2 separate regions of the Homo sapiens genome follow, and region 1 is linked to region 2. Evidence: promoter capture Hi-C in 16 types of primary human blood cells and fetal thymus (Javierre and others, 2016). All regions are on one chromosome and are shown on one strand. Each heading gives the region's core, a stretch centred on a gene start or on the middle of the fragment in contact. The rest is flanking DNA. Distances are from core to core; before and after follow the strand shown.

Evidence for each region. Contacts are between HindIII fragments. The CHiCAGO score rates a contact against its expected background, and 5 or more counts as called.
Region 1: a contact is called between a fragment that was not itself captured here and the fragment with the promoter of RPL27A in region 2, in 1 of 17 cell types (fetal thymus). The highest score is 9.1, in fetal thymus.

What each region holds. Positions count from the first base shown.
Region 1 is chr11:44,059,361-44,065,826 of GRCh38, reverse strand. ACCSL (1-aminocyclopropane-1-carboxylate synthase homolog (inactive) like) reads right to left here. Exons shown (of 14, transcript NM_001031854.2): 14 at 5,850-5,989. The coding sequence ends at 5,907. Among named protein-coding and RNA genes, the nearest start is that of ACCS, 3.7 kb to the left of the region's middle. The HindIII fragment of the contact is 1,793 bases long and covers 354-2,146 here.
Region 2 is chr11:8,679,313-8,684,041 of GRCh38, reverse strand. RPL27A (ribosomal protein L27a) reads right to left here and starts at 1,250. Exons shown (of 5, transcript NM_000990.5): 1 at 1,226-1,250; 2 at 777-840; 3 at 1-36. The coding sequence starts at 1,228. It overlaps TRIM66 (tripartite motif containing 66), which reads left to right and starts at 1,377. Exons shown (of 25, transcript NM_001388022.1): 1 at 1,377-1,441; 2 at 3,979-4,141; 3 at 4,228-4,422. RefSeq lists enhancers at 329-971, 1,298-1,487, 1,688-1,757, 621-1,820 and a silencer at 978-1,177. The HindIII fragment of the contact is 2,972 bases long and covers 857-3,828 here.

The DNA of each region.
Region 1 (6,466 bases), core at 1-2,500, about 35 Mb before region 2:
CCTTTCATCGCAGTTTGTCATTTCTGCCCCTTTCATTTGTAGGGGATTTTCTGTAGCCCTCATAGGTTCTTAGTTGGGGGAGACTCCTGTTACAAAAGACAAATTAACAAGAGAAAAACAGACAGAAATTTACTGACATGTGTATTTCATTTATACATGAGAAATCTGGAGGGAATGAGTCGTTCTGGAAGAGGTGACTTTGAATTCCAGTTTTTATAGCATCTTCAACAAAGAACAGTAATTTTTTTAAGTTACAAGACAAAGAAATAGGGCTTTGAGTCTCTCCAGGAGGCAACTTGTGAGAAGGCAAAAAAAAAAAAAAAAAAAAAAGACAAAGGCCAGTTAGTCAAGCTTGTTAATGTAAATTCCTCTGGTACCATCTCCAGGCCATAGGGGTCTAAAGTTGTCTTTGTTCTCCTAGGTAGACAGAGGGACAGGATACCTTTTGTCTTTGTAAACCTGTGTCCTACTTTTAGGCAAATAGGGCCAGGGTAGAGAGCTTTCCTGAATGTGCTGCTGCTTGTCTTTAGCACAATCCTTCATGTTTTGGGGAGGCATGTCCTGGTCTCCCACACGTGCCTGCAATATTTGTTGAACTCTGGCTAGGTGTGGCGGCCCACGCCTGTAATGCCAACACTTTGAGAGGACAAGGTGGGAGCATCCCTTGAACCCAGGAGTTTGAAACCAGCCTGGGCAACATAGAGAGACCGTGTCTCTACCAAAAAAAGGTTTTTATGTTTTTTTGTTTTTTTGAGACGGAGTCTCGCTCTGTCATCCAGGCTGGAGTGCAGTGGCACAATCTCTGCTCACTGCAACCTCCGCCTCCCGGGTTCAAGCAATTCTTTTGTCTCAGCCTCCCCAGTAGCTGGGACTACAGGCACGCACCACCACGCCTGGCTAATTTTTGTATTTTTAGTAGAGATGGAGTTTCACCATATTGTCCCGACTGGTCTTGAACTCCTGACCTCGTGATCTGCCCGCCTCGGCCTCCCAAGTGCTGGGATGGCAGGCGTGAGCCACTGCACTCAGCCAAAATGTTTTTGTAAATTAGCCAGACTTGATGACATGTGCCTGTGGTTTCAGCTACTTGGGAGGCTGAGGTGGGAGGATCACTTGAGCCCAGAAGGTAGAGGCTGCAGTGAATTTGATCGTGCCACTGCACTCCCACCTGGGTGTTTGCGAGACTCTATCTAAAAAAAAAAAAAAAAAAAAAAAAAAATTACATACACACACACACACACACACACACACACACACACACATATAATTTCAAAAGTATTTTTCAAACTCTGCCCTAAGCTCTACATATTCTGGCAATGGGTACAGTGGGCACCCAGGTCCCAGGTAGAGCTGCAGTCTCTGAGGTGCCTTGAATGGGAAAGTCTTCTTTCCCCATGAAAGGAAATAAGCAGAATCTCTCAATACAGGTATGGCTGGGAAGACATGGCTGTCTTCTGGCCATTCCACTTCTTGTCTTCACTTTTGCCTTGCACTAGCTAACACTGTGACCTTGAGCAACTCTCATGACTTTTTTGGCCCTTACTGTTTTCTTCTGTAAGATAAGGAAGCGATTATTTTCCTCTATTTAAATCTTAATTCTATGTAATTCACATCTCAGTGAATGCCTGTTATGTGCCAGGTCTCTGTAAAATGCGAGGATACGGTGATGAGCAAGACAAACCAAAGCCTGCATGATTGATTGGGAAGGCCGACTTACAATGTGGGGACTATTTTAAAAAGACTATTTACTGGGTACCATGGAAACATGCAGCAGGGGGATTTAACCCCACGAAACAACAAACACAGGCACTTGTCCTAAGTGGAAGACATACACACACGTTACATTAAATGTGAATTGACTAAAGATCAATTAAAAGATCATCAGACTGGATAAAACAGCAAGAATCAAGCATATGGTGTGTGCAGGAGACACACTTTAAATACAAAAACAAATGGTCAAAGGTAAAAATGTGAAAAAAAACAAGCAAATAATAATCATGAAAAAAGCTGATGTGTTCATATTGGTATCTGATAGTAGGCTTCAAGACAAAAATAATTAACAAAAATAAAATGGGGCATTTTAGAATAAAATGATTAATTTATCAGGGTGACAATCTTAAAAGTTTATGCTCGTAATAACAAAGCTTCAAAATACATGAAGCAGAAACTGACAGAACGAAAAAGAGAAAAGACAAGTTCATAATAATTGGAAAATTTTATACCACTCTCTCGGTGATAGAACAAATGGATCAAAAGACACTAAGGATCAGAACTTTTGGACATTATACAAAAATTTAATCTAATTGACATTTATAGAACACCATCCCCAATACCACAGAATATACTTCTTTTCAAGTGCAAATGAAACATTAAGATAGACCACATGTTGTAAACAAATCTGGCCATAAACTGTCTTAATAAGTTTCAAAGGATTGAAACCATAGAGTACATTCTCTAGTCACAATGAAATTAAAGTAGAAATCATTAACAAAGAAAGCTGAACAGTCCCCAAATATTTGGAAACTAAGTTACATATGCTAAGCAAACCATTGATTTAAAAAAAGAAATCACAAGGGAAATTAGAAAATATTTTGAATGATTAAAAACCAGCAGATCAAAGTTTATGGAATGTAGCTAAAATAATGCTAAGTGAGAAATGAATAGCTTGTAATGCATATATTTGAAACCAACTTAAAACAAATGATCTAAGCTTCCACATTAATAAGCTAGAAAAAAGAGCAAATTAAACCCAAAGTAAATAGAAAGAAATAAAGATAAGAGCAGAAATGAAGGCGAAACGAGAAAAATCAATGAAACTGAAAGTTGGTTCTTTGAAAAGTTCAATACAGTTGATAAACAGTTAGATTGACTGATCAAAAAAACTCATTTTGTTGCAGAATTTTGCTCCTTAGTTCAGCTAAAACCGGGTTCTTGTCACACCACCAGGAAGGATTAGGAACATGGACACATTGAAGGGTGAGGGGAACGGAATTTACTGGGCAAAAAGGAAAAAAGAAAAATACTGTCAGCAGAGCAAGAGGGGGTCCTGCTAACAGGCCTCCAAACTCACATTGAATCCCAGGCCACCACACAGAAATTGAAGAGGCCAGGCTCCTCCCCGCTGAGCATGGCCACAGCTTCCCTTGGCTCCATCTTGTTCTCCCAGTGCACAGATGGGTTGGAGATTCTCCGGAGACCCTCCCCGTAATCCCCCTCCTGCATGTATCAATTTCAGTATCAGGAAAGGAAAAGGAGATACAACTAAAGATCCTAAATGTATTAAAAGGATAACAGAATATTTATAACCAATTTTAAGTCAATAATTAAACTTAGATGAAATAGACAAACTTTATTGAAAGGCACAAATAACCAAATCTGATACAAGAAATAGAAAACTCGAACTGTCACAGAAATTGAATTTATAAGTAAAAGCCGTCCCACAAAAAAAAAAAAAGAAGAAAAAAAAAACCTCCAGGCCCTTATGGTTTTACAGCTGAATTCAACCAAATATTTAAAGGTTGAAGAAGTTTTTGGACACAAACTTCTAGAAAATTCAGGAAGGAACAGTTTCCCAAACATCTATGAAACCAGTATTAATCATGATACTGAAACTAACAATGCATTACAAAAAAAAAAATTATAGAATGATGTCCTTCTTGAATGTAAACTTCTTAAAATAGCAAACCAAACTCAATGGTATATAAAAGGACAATGCATCATGACCAAATGGGGTTTATTGCAGCAATGTGAAGTTGCTTTAACATTAAGAAATCAATGTAACTTACTACATTGATAATCAAGAGAAAAATCATATCTCTATAAATGCAGATGAAAAACATCTAACAACATTGAACCCTCATACATGGTAAAACTCCCAGCAAACTAGTAATAGAAGGACTCTTTATTAGATAAGGGACAGAATGAAAAATACAGTAACGTTATACTCAAGAGCAGAAGATTGCACTCAATGCTACTAAGACTGAGAACAAGGCAGGCTGTCCTCTCAACCACTTTTATTCAACGTTATACTAGAGGTTTTTTAAAAAGAGCTATATCGGTCAGGAGCGGTGGCTCAGCTTGTAATCCCAGCACTTTGGGAGGCCGAGGCAGGCGGATCACTTGAGGTCAGGCGTTTGAGACAAGCCTGGCCAACATGGTAAAACCCTGTCTCTACTAAAGATATAAAAATTAGCTGGGCGAGGTGGCACGTGCCTGTAGTCCCAGCTGCTTGGGAGGCAGAGGCAGGAGAATCGCTGAACCAGCAGCAGAGGTTGCAGTGAGCCGAGATTGTGACACTGCACTCCAACCTGGGCGACAGAGTGAGACTCAGTCTCACAACAACAACAACAACAACAACAAAAACACACACATACACACACACACACAAGAAAACTGACAAGAATAAACAAATTTGGATTCGGAGCAAGTACGGCCACAAACCCAAGCGACTAAAGCCACCAGTTGGTACTGTGAGCTCTTTCTTCATCCATAAAATCGTAGTAGTCCCTTCTCTGCCCACTTCACAGTATCAGTGCTCTGACATGCAAGGGCTTTGCAGAGAAACTGATGGGTGGCTTAATTTGAACAGCTGAAAACATTAGAAATGGAAATGGACAACCCCAGATGCTACGAACTGAATGTGTCCCCCCAACATTCATATTTGAAATCCTAACCCCCAAGGTGATGGTATTAGAAGGTGAGCCCTTTGAAAAGTGATTGGGTCATGAAGGCAGAGGAAGACCTCTCACCTCTTCTGCCACATGAGATGACACTGGGAAGATGGGACCCTCACCAGATGCCAAATCTCCCAGGGCCTTGAACTCGGCCTTTCCAGCCTCCAGAACTGTGAGAAAGATTTGTTTCTAAGCCATCCACTTTGTGATATTTTCATATTATGAAGGGACTAAGACACCAAGCTTGTCAGATTTTTTTTTCTTTTTTGTAGAGACAGGGTCTTACTCTATAACCAGGCTGGAATGCAGTGGCACGATATGGTTCACTGCAGGCTTGGTCTCCTAGATTTAAGCGAGCCTCCCACCTCAGCCTCCTGAATAGCTGGGACTAGAGGCACACATCACCACACCCAGCTAATTTTATTTTTTGTAGAGACAGGGTCTCGGTTGCTCAGGCTGGTCTCAAACACCTGGCCTCAAGCCATTCTCTGGCCTCAGCCTCCCAAAGTGCTGGGATTACAGGCATGAGCCACCGTACCCAGCAAGAGACTTTAAAAGCCTTTTGGGAAGGTAAAAGTGGAACAAACTCTAGTATTTGGAAGCAGGAATACCTGCAATTATACTCCCACCTGCCTCTTAGCAGGTCATGTGGAAGTGGATGTGATTTCATAAGAATCTTATAGAACATTGCATCCAACACCTGGAAAATGGCCCATCAGTTAAGGATGACTTCTTTCTTTTTCTGGCCTGCTCTAGACAGTATTCTTTACATAGAACCTGCCTTAGAATTTAAAAATTAAGGAGGACAGAAAATCATCTGGCTTCCAAAGATGATTATGAAGAATATAAGCAAGAAAATAAGATGGGCCTAGAATTTAAAAGTATAGAATTTATTAGGTACTGAATATAAAAATAAACCATCTAAATAGGGGCCCAGAGAACTCCCTTTATTTCTCTAGGTGTCTCTAGGCCTTTCCACCCCAACCCCGATAAAAACATTTTGCATATATAATGGCTAGCAAAGACTAAAAAGATGGAAAGCTTCCAAAGACAGCAGGCACTCAGCTTAAGGAGGGTGACAACCGGGTAAGATGAGATCTTCCTGGAGGAGCCCACCATTTTCTCCATCGCAACACTGACAAAAAGACACCCTGGCCTTCTGGGCCAGAGGCTGACATTAGGGGGTCCCTGAGCAAGTGATGGGCTGGAACTGCTGGTTGGGAGGCAGACGGCCTACTCCCTCATTGCATCCTCCAACTGCTTCACTATCAAAGCCTCCTTCTGCTCCTGCAGCACATCACAGAACCGACGCATAGCTAGAGGGTTCAAATGGGGACAGAGAGAAATAGTGATTTAGTAGGTTTGCTGGTGGGTCCCAGACATACCCAGGTCATGGTCAACCATAAAAGCCTCTCATTCAGGGATCCTGAACTTCAGCCCTCCCACCTTTGGGATGGATTTCCAAGTCTACATGTTGCATCCCTGATTTCTTTTTGAATATCATTGTTATGTCAGCCTGCGAGACATCTCAATGTCTTGTATCAAAGCCTGTACTCTCGGGCTTATGGCCTTGGCCTAATCAGGATTTCTATTTGCCTCTAGTGTCTCTTCACTCAGCCTATCTTCTATGCTAGCTCAAAAGAATTCTGTAACAAAAACCTTCATGAGAATGAACAATTCACTGCTATATTCCCAGCAGGTAGAACAGCATCTGGCATGTAGTGGAATGCAATAAATAAATGTTCACATGAATGTCCTATTCTCTATAACCTCAGAGGAGAATCTAAACTCTC
Region 2 (4,729 bases), core at 1-2,500:
CATTACCGCGGCCGCCGGGGTGCTTCCGGTGCTTGCCTGCAGGAATACAAAGCTACGTGGGGCCGGTGTGATGGCTCATGCCTGTAATCCCAGCATTTTAGGAGGACGAGGGGGGGTAGATCACCTGAGGTCAGGAGTTCGAGACCAGCCTGGCCAACACGGAGAAACCCCCGACTCTACTAAAAATAGAAAAAGAATTAGCCGGGCGTCGTGGCGCACACCTGTAATATCAGCTACTCGGGAGGCTGAGGCAGGAGAATCGCTTGAGCCCGGCAGGCAGGGGTTGCAGTGAGCCGAGATTTCGCCACTGCACTCCAGCCTGGGCGACAGTGATCAGTCTCACACACACACAAAAAAGCTACATGCACCACACAGCCTTCTCATGCATCTCAATACTTCCTCGCACAAAAGCAGAGTGTTTCCCAGACTTCTGTGTCCCGCTTACGCTGTTCCCACCCTACCGATGCCGGTTTTCAGCAATGCGATTACTTTAGGATTCCGGGTGAAACATCTTTTCAGGTTCCACATCACAGCATTCCCACAGTACTCCATGTCTTCAACTAACCCAATACCGTGCCTGCTCAATTCCTATTACCCCACTGATGTGAAATTCCTTAGAACTGGAATACTAGAGGATCGTCAGAAAAAAATCAACAGCTGTGCAACTTGACCACAAAAAGGTCTTATTCTAACCCACTTATAGGCTACCGATCTCCAGACTAGCTAAGCACCCGAAGAGAGCCCAAGGCCCACCCCGAGGGGAAGCCGGCACTTACCTATGCGGCCGTGGCCGTGGCTCACGTGGCCCCTAAGTTTCCGGGTCTTCCTCAGTCTGGATGGCTGTGTGGAAAAAGCTTGGTGGTAAGGCCTAAGGAATTAGGGGCAGGGGGCGATGCCCGCCAGCCGAGATGGTCCTGTAAGCCTGTGGGTCAAAGACCTAACTTCTGGAGCGTTTGGGAAAGCTGAGGGTACCGATCCGCTCAGGGCCGTGAGGTCTCACCACGGTAGCGCAGGGGCCCGCGTGTCCTAGAGATCCGAACCGCGGGCCTAACACACGGCTCCGGGAGCCCCGCCCCGGGCCCGCGCCGGCCACCCTGCCCCGCAGGCGGCCATGCGCAGCCTGGAAGCCCCGACCATGGTAGGGAGTGGATGACTAGGGGCAATGGGAATACAGCTTAGGGGTCTCCGCCGGCAAGGAAGAGGAGGCAAGAAACGAAACACCTACCATGTTGGCAGCCCAGACGAAAAAGGAAGGCCTTCGCCAAGTCTCGCGAGGTATCGGCCACGGGGGCGGGGCAAAACGCCTCACTTCCGGTCACAGAGGCCGGGCTTCGGGCGGGGCCTCCTGGTCTCGCGGGATTGCGCGCCTGCTAGTCGCTTCCTCTTTCTGAGGGTGGTGATCCCCCATCACGGAGTGTCCTGGTGGCGGTGTACGGTTTCGGTGAGGCTCGTTGTGCTAGGCTCGGAGGGCGAGAACTGTTGAAGAATCGGGGCTAGGTGTGCTGTACTGCACGCCGCCCGTGCTTGCTTGAGCCAGGCCCTTTTCTGGCGCCTTGGTCAGGGAACCGCCTAAGCCGACCCTAAGGGCCTCGTTGTCTGAGCTCCTCACCAAATGCGCCAGCCCTGAGCCGCCCCGCGCACCTCCACAGTTCTTAGTGGTCTGCCCGGGGCTGGTGATAGTGGCTACTGGTTTGTCTCCCGGCCGCAGTGCGGAACCGCGAGGCCCTCTTTAATCCTCAGTGTGCCCACCTGGTGTCTCGCTCGGTTTCCTGAAGCTCGGGCGGCTCCCGAAATGCCTTCTCCCGCTCTCACACTTCTGAGTGGGCACTGCAGCTTCCTTTCTCTTTTGCCCTTTTGCTATCATTTGGTTGTCCTCTCAAGTTTGAGCAACTTAAATTGCTTCAGGGACTTAGATGCCTGGTTGCTTTATGGTCCTTTTAATGCAGATGTTGTAAATACTTTTTCTAAATGCCACATTTAGGCCAGGCGCGGTGGCTCACACCTGTAGTCCCAACACTTTGGGAGGTCGAGGCGGGAGGATTTCTTGAGGCGAGTAGTTCAACACCAGCCTGGGCAACATAGTGAGACCCTCGTCTCCACATACAAAAGTAAATAAGTAAAAATAAATGCTATTTTTGAATTTTCTCCAGAATCTACATAACACGCCTGTGACCCTTTCCTGGACACAATGCAGACAGTTGCTCGCTTCCCCACCTGTACCACCACACAATCTAGTATAACCCTTATGTAATTTATTGACCTACGTTTGTCTTCCCTACTAGACCTAATTCCTTATGTGGTCAAGGACTGTTTTTTTTAATCCACACTCAACTAGTGATTGTTGAGTGAATAAATGAACTTACCCTCACCTCCCTGTCTTCGCTAATAGCAGCATGTCTTCGCTCTTAAGTCGGTTCCTTCAACCAGTGTTCAAGATCCCATCCCCTCGCTAGTCTATTAATAGATCCCATGGGAAAAATGAAATAAATTTTTAAAATCCCATCCCCTCAGTTATTCTCTGTGTGTATGTGTGAGCGTGTATTTATTTATTTTTCTTTGTCTTGCCCCCTTCAGCTAAAATATATTTTAGCTAAAATATCCAAAATTCTGGCCGGGCGTGGTGGCTTACTTCTGTAATCCCAGCACTTTGGAAGGCCGAGGCGGGCGGATCACGAGGTCAGGAGATCGAGACCATCCTGGCTAACACGGTGAAACCCCGTCTCTACTAAAAATACAAAAAATTAGATGGGCGTGGTGGTGGGCGCCTGTAGTCCCAGCTACTCGGGAGGCTGAGGCAGGAGAATGGCGTGAACCCGGGAGGCGGAGCTTGTAGTGAACCGAGATCGCGCCACTGCACTGCAGCCTGGGCGACAGAACGAGACTCCGTCTCAAAAAAAAAAAAAAAAATTCCAAAATTCTCCCATGTCCTTGCCCTTACAGCCAAGCTCCCCAAAAGAGTAGTCTACAAATCCTGCCCATTTGCACCTTCCCATCCATTGTTCACTGCGGTCTAGCTCACAGCCTGTGACTTCAGTGAAATTGCTCTTACTAATGTCATTAATGAACGAATTGCCAAATTGGACTCTTCCTATTCTTCATATCACTTGTTCTTTCTGTTGTACTTTAATCTGTTGGCGTCTTTTTCTAGAAAAAGTCTTGCCTTCCTCCTACTCTTTGGTCACTTTTCAGTCTTCTTTTCAGGTTCTTCCATCCAGCGTTGTCCACCATTTGAATGTTGATGTTCCTCAGCCTTCTGTCCTTGTCCTTATCTTTTCACAGTACATGGTCTTCTTGGGTGGCTTCAATTCACATCCTTATTGCTGAGCTCCACACCCATATGGTCACTTAATTACTGGTTAGTATTCCTTGGACATTCTACAGACAAAGTAAACATATCCAAAGAACTCAATCTGCACTGCTCACTGGTGCCTTCTCCTTTATTCTCTGTCTTGGTGAGTGGCACCATTGTCCACCTAGATAATGAAAATTGTCCCCAAGCCTTCTCTTCTTCTACTACACTGTCACCCTATCCTTTTGTTTCTGTATCTCCCCAATGTGCTTCCTCTGTTTAAGCCTTAGTGCCCTGCCTTCATTCAGGCCCCCATCATATCTCTTAACTGGAGTTTACAACACCTTCCTTTGTTCACTCTGCCTGCATTCTAACCCTCCTCCAATTTCTGTATCCTTCACACCTCCACCACGTTAGTATTCCGAAAACATGACTTTCATTCTTTTACTTGATCAAAAAGTTCGGTAGCTCCTTATGACCAACAGAATATAGCCCACTTGCCTTTCCAGCCTTACCCCAGCCTCTCCCTTACACAAGCTTTCTACTGCAGCCGTGCCTGGTATATCCCATTTGCATTTTTGCCTTTGCTCATGCTGTTTCCCATCCCGGAGTGCCCATCCTCTTCCTGACCACATGTCCTGAATCTTCCTCAACCTTTAAGGCCAACTTTATATTCTGCTTCTTCCCAGAACACTTCAGTCCACAAGGATAACAACCAACATTTTCAGAGCACTTGGCAATTTACAAAATACATCTGCCTGAAGGTACAGCACTACCAGCCTCATTTTACGTGTGTGAAAACTGAAGCACAGAAGAATTGGGTGACTTGTCAGACGCTGCATAGGTGGTCAGGTACAGAGCCTGGGCCTAGCCTTTAGTCTTCTCTCTCCAGATCCCCTGCTTTTACCTCAGTGACCAGTCCCTCTCTGACCTTACAGCATTATGGTCTTCATCCCTCCATCAACCTTAATCACATACTGCATGTGACCAGCAGGAAGAGGGGTCTTGAGAATAGGAGGGGAGATCAAAGAAGACATCGTCGTCTATTTGACATCAAAACTGGCCAGTAAGTGCACAAGAAATGAGCTGGGTTACCTGGAACCTAACCTTGGGAAGATGATCTGTCAATGGAGGTAAGCTGGGCAGGGCCTTGGGAATGAAAGGGAACCATCAGTGGTATTAGAGCTGGGGCCTACAATAAGGACCACCACTGCAAGGGGTTGAGGTAGGGTTCTGGGTGCTAAGACACTCCTCTTGGATAGTTTGCCAGGTTCCTTGGTTATAGAGGAGCTACGTTCTGTCCCTCAGGTCACGCGGCTGAACAGAAGGCCTCCCAGAGTGGACCCAGCACTACCCGTTGGGTTCTGTGTTCACCTAACATTCTTCTCATCAATGGCTTGATCTGGTTGTAGAGGGAGTACCCTGGGTAGTTGTCTGGCT